Linked DNA regions of Homo sapiens: region 1 is linked to region 2. Evidence: promoter capture Hi-C in human tissues and cell types (Jung and others, 2019). All regions are on one chromosome and are shown on one strand. The core of a region is centred on a gene start or on the middle of the fragment in contact, and the rest is flanking DNA. Distances in the headings are between cores, read along the strand shown. Region 1 has its middle 46 kb from the start of C13orf42. Region 2 holds the start of SPRYD7 (SPRY domain containing 7).

What was found. The method cuts DNA at HindIII sites, captures the fragments that hold promoters and counts their contacts. A contact is called where the count stands out against the background at its distance.
Region 1: a contact is called between a fragment that was not itself captured here and the fragment with the promoter of SPRYD7 in region 2, in 1 of the 25 tissues and cell types used here (lymphoblastoid cells).

What each region holds. Positions count from the first base shown.
Region 1 is chr13:51,064,072-51,066,771 of GRCh38, reverse strand. It overlaps the pseudogene GUCY1B2. Among named protein-coding and RNA genes, the nearest start is that of C13orf42, 46 kb to the left of the region's middle. The HindIII fragment of the contact is 8,297 bases long and covers 1-2,700 here.
Region 2 is chr13:49,935,074-49,937,773 of GRCh38, reverse strand. SPRYD7 (SPRY domain containing 7) reads left to right here and starts at 1,434. Exons shown (of 5, transcript NM_020456.4): 1 at 1,434-1,644. The coding sequence starts at 1,539. RefSeq lists enhancers at 454-503, 1,374-1,623 and a silencer at 1,084-1,333. The HindIII fragment of the contact is 7,175 bases long and covers 1-2,700 here.

The sequences.
Region 1 (2,700 bases), core at 42-2,541, 1.1 Mb before region 2:
AACCATGAGTCACATCCCTCTAGTGCCCCACACCTCCACACTGCCTGGAGGGCTTACCCCAGCCTTTGATTTTACTAAATGTATTTATTTGTTCTCTGTTTTTACACCAAAGCTAGCATGTGTGTTGGAACAGCTACAGGCGACATTTGTTGGACCTGGTTAGTGGCTGGATTTCTCACCTCTGACCACAAGTAATACTCAGGAAATAGACCTCTGGCAAACAGCCCACCAGAGCCTGAAACGGAACAGTGATGGGGATGGAGGATAAGGCTCAAGGCACCAGGGGACTTCCCATTATGACACTGTAGGGCCAAGTGTTGGTCAAGGCAGGCCGTTCTTGGATGGCATCCAACGTGGTTTAATTAAAGATACACTAAAAAGATCACTCAATAGACAGCCTCATCTACAAGGCAGTCTTCCTACAGGAGCTTAGGGGTGTATGCTTTTCTGTGCTTGCAGAAAGGCGTTCTGTGCCGTTGGCACCTCGGGGAGAAGCTTCAGGTTTCAGGCTGAACTCCTGAGAGCTTAGCATCTGGGGTGTGCACGACTTGGGGTGCCAGGCAGCAGGTCCCACTTGCTCACCAGAGGGGGCGGCCTTATGCTTTACCCCGCAGGTGACTGAGGACCCAACAGTGTGCTCCTTGCTTGGAGGCTAGTGATGAGCTCCTAATTTCACTGTGGACTGCCCAGATTTCTACAAGACAGGCTTCTGGAGACGCTGTGGATTCTCTCCTGAGTGACTAGGGGCTGGCAGGAAGGGCGGGCGCTTGGTGCTGCATCTCAATCCCTGTGGCCCCAGGAGCAGCTGCGGCAGGAACATGGTGAGCAGCTCTCAGCACCCTTGGCCCTGACTTTCCTTCCGCTTCTGTTTGTTGAGCACCTATTGTTCAAAATGCCTGTTATCTAAGAGGCTACAGTTTCCTGAGCGCTTACTATGTGCCAAGTACCTCACACGTATTACCTCATTTAATGCTTACTAAAACCCTATGAGGAAGGGACCATTCTCACCCCCATTTTCCAAATGAGACAACTGAGGGTGAGTAAGATCTGGCTTGAGTCAAACAGCAAATAAGACTTGGGGTCAGCAATGAGCCCTCATGGTCTAACTTCAGAACCGTTACTCTATAACCCCAACAACCATCCTCCAACACAGCAAACGGTATTATGTCCACTTTAGCTCATGAGCAGACTGGGCTCAGAGAGGTTAGGCAATTTACCCAAAGCTGCACAGCTACAAGTCACAGAAACAGAAACCCTTCTGGCTCCAGAGCCCAAACCCTTTCTCCTAAGCTGTACTCCCTCTCTGGGCTTACTGAGACTGCATTTTATTTTGAAGCCACATTCCCCAGCCAATGCCTGGCAGGCACGGTGAGTAGGACTGGATATGGAATGTGAAAACATCTTTACAGGAGAAAGATTTGGCTAAACCTTAACATTTTCAGACATTTTAATTGCTTCTTTGGAACGCAGATGTTTTTGGGGGTGCTGCAGCCATGGCCCAAGTAGCCTCTGAAAGATTTGGGTGTCACCAGCAAATGAGAGTCCCTGCCTGCTTGCTGATCTCACTGGTTGAGCAGCACTAGTTCCAGATGGTTAGAGAACTTTGGTGCTGGCTTGCCATTCTTACTTATTTCAGTGAGGCCCTCAAATGTGTAGGGAGTGTGTCCTACCAAGTATCCCCCTCCACCTGGGTGTGGGCAGCAAACACCAAGGTCCCCGCATATGCTCGACACATCGTGTGGGATACATTGCCTCTTTTGCTCTCTCCAGGGGCAGAGAAAGTCACCTGATTTCAGTGGACAGGAAAGGGACATGTTTATAATCAGTAGAGGGTGAGGGGGCCACTCTCTGATCTATAAGCTCAAGGTCTCTAAATGATTAACTCTGGTACCAGCTTGGGGAACTGCTGAACACCAAAGACAAATGCTGGACCACATGACTCAATGGCCCTAAATTCATCAAACAGAGGCACACTATCGGGGTGGTCATGACCTAGAAGTAGGTGATGTGGTTATCAACTAGCAGCAGACTTCAAATTCCCCACTGCCTCAGTTTCCCTTGTTACACACTAGAAGTTTGTCTCTAGTGCTCGGGCAGTGGGCATGATGTTTTATTTGATTGGGCATACTTTTGCAAAGATTGCTAAGTTGAACAATTGCTATCTTTGTTTACATTGGATTGATGTTGAATAACGGGTTATTTAAAGATTTTCATGAGACTTGAGGCTTCATTTCAGTACTTCCTTGCTCGATAAGTGTTTGTTAAATACCTCCTGTGTAGCAGACAGTGTCTTGGCACTTTAGTCAAAATATAGATAAATGACACTTACTTCCTGACCCTGAGGAGCTTGCAATTTAACAAAGGACAGGAAAAAAATATATATATACATACACACATATGCATTTATATGTGTACATGGCCACATATAAACATACATAATATATATAAGTATATACAAATACATGCACACCCATACATACATGCCTGTGTGTATATATATATGTGTGTGTTGACAGATACAAAACCCGAGCGTGTGCATGTGATAGTTAACACACCATCTCTGTGGTGTTGAGGACACAGAGGCATCCAGCAGTGAGCCTGACAGGGAATGATGGCTGGGTCTGGCAGAGGGAGAGGAAATGGTTCTGCAGACCAGGCAGTATCCCAGTAGCCTCAGAGCCTGGCCTTGCCCTGGGCTGA
Region 2 (2,700 bases), core at 185-2,684:
TTATAACTCGGGTCACTAAAAGTTACGTATGGGAAATCATTATTTAAGTAGTGGGCATTTTATGTCCAGTTTCCCAGGACTTGATGATCCATCCCTAGGGAAGCCTTCAGGATGAAACTGATCTGGGAACAGAGGTTTGAGCTAGGTTAATTCTAGAGGTCGTCCCAGACATTTCCAGATGCCAAGCGGTATCTTTTTTTTTTTTTTTTTTTTTTTGGAGACAGAGTCTCTGTTGCCCAGGCTGGAGGGCAGTGGCGCGATCTAGGCTCACTGTAACCTCCGCCTCCCGGGTTTAAGCGATTCTCGTGCCACAACCTCCTGAGTGGCTGGGATTACAGGCGTGCACCACCGCACCCAGCTAATTTTTGTATTTTTAGTAGAGACGGGGTTTCACCATGTTGGCCATCCTGGTCTTGAACTCCTGACCTCAGGTGATCCGCCCACCTCAGCCTCCCAAAGTGCTGGGATTACAGGCGTGAGCCACTGCACCCGGCCTGAAGATGTAAAATCTACCACGGAAGGATGATCTAAGTGGGGAAGGAGATGACAGGTGACAGCCTCCCGTGTGGAAGCAGAAAGTAGCGGACGGTAGGAGCCGAAGGCTTCCCTCGGGACCCAGCAGACTTCCCGCAGCCTCCTGGGTTCCCGTCACATTCCTCGGAACCCTCAGTGCACCAGACAGGGGGAGCTTGGAAGAGGCAGGTCAAGAATCGCCCCCGACCCCGCCCCAGCGTTCTGCTCCCAGGGCGGCCTCCCACGCGCCCCGGACCACGCAGCCCGATGGGCCAGGTAGGGCGCGTCTCTGCACCGAAAATGCATTAGGGCCCGCGTGAGCCCCGGTGAACATCCACAGTGCAGTCACTAACAGGCATTACTCCTGGGGCCCACGTGAGTCTATTTAGCATGTGAGGGAAACCAGCCACGGCAGGGAGACTGGGGCTCTCCGTGGTGGCAAAGCCTGCTCAACCTGGGCCCGCGGAGGGAAAACTCGGAAGTCATTTCCATTAGCTCCCCTTCCCCCAAACTGATTCGCTTCTGTCAATCCATCCCTAGAAATAATGTCGAGGCCGGGACCAAGGGGTGCTGCGTTTTAAAAATTCTGCATAGGAAAACCCCTGGAAGTACTGAGGGACAGACAGCCCCACTCACCTGTCAGCCCTGGGGGCGTGCGCGAAACCGCCCAAGGAGAAAAAACCAGCTGGTGCGCAGGCGCACGCCGTCCCACATCCGCAGGCCCGCAACGCCACGCCCCCTGCCACGCCTCCGCGCGCCACTAGCCCCACCCGTCTCCCCGGCCCAGCCCGGCCGCTCGCCCTGTCCGGTCTCTCCCCGGCCCCTTGATTCTCCGCGTCTTCCTCGCAGGCCAGCCTAAGCTCAGCCTGCATTGCGCCCTCCCGGCCTAGGGTGTCGCTGTACCGGCCTCCGAGCTCCACATAGACAAGTCCGGACCTCGGGCGGGGGCAGGAGACGGAGCTGAGCGGCGGGGGGCAGTGTCGCCTCGGTCTAGGGACGGCGGCGGAGTCGGTGGTCCCTGCGCGATGGCCACCTCGGTGTTGTGCTGCCTGCGGTGCTGCAGAGACGGGGGGACTGGCCACATCCCTCTGAAGGAGATGCCGGCCGTGCAGCTGGACACGCAGCACATGGGTAAGGGCCCTCCCTTCCCCAGACCCAACGGCTCACGGGGGCCGGGCGCGGCGGGCAGGGGGACCTTCAGGGTCAGAGGGTCCCCACGCTGCCCCGCCGCGCCGGCGACGCTGCGCCGACACCATTTCGTCTCGCAGATCTCTCCAGAAGCCGGCGGACTCCACCTGGGCCCGGTTCTGTGTTCAAGGCTGCGCAGCCCTCTCTGTGTCTGTCATCGCGAATGGGCGTGTGGACCTCCCATTTTCACAGGAATCTCGGAGGCTTCCTCCGGAGATGTCACACGTCCTCGGGCGAGGGGGCGGAGAGTGCCCTTCTGGCGCGCCCCAGTGAAAACCTACACATTTTCAGAATGCTTCTAGGTCCGGTCTTGCTCCTCCTCCTGCCCTGACTGTCGGTCCTGTCTCTTGAGCCCCATCATTTATAGGTTGAATCCTATATTATTGGAAGTAATTTTCCTCTCACCTCCTAAAGTCGAAACAAGGCAGACTGCAGAAGTCTGAAGTCGCACCTCAGGTCAGAACTTGCCATTTCAACTAAAACCTCCCATTGCCCGACTCCTTAGTCATTGTGAGAGGTACTGTAATTTCATCTGACTGGCCTCTTCCCAACAGGTCTAACTGTTGAAAAATAAAATAGCACTTTGCTCCTTTGCATCTTGCTTTATCCTTTTAATTCCAAATCCATATAATTTATCTAACATTCTTCCTCTCCCATCATAGCCTCTTTCACCACCTTATTATTTCTTAGACTTTTCCCAGGTAGTTTCATGCTTCTGGAATGTGGTTCTAGAAGGAGAGATTTCCCAATATAATTATTTCAGTTAGAGTACTGTCTTTTTGTGGATTATTTTATTCTAACTGTACTTCTGCACTTTTGATTTTTTACACGTTTCTGATTGTTTAAAGGACAGTGCATTGAAATAAAAAGGCACTTCTTAATATTTATGATAAAACTCTCTCGCCCAGTTTCCTTATAATTCTGGAAACACTCTGCCCACTGTATTTTTGTATAACACATACTAAATGTGATAACTATATAATCACCTTGTATGTGTGT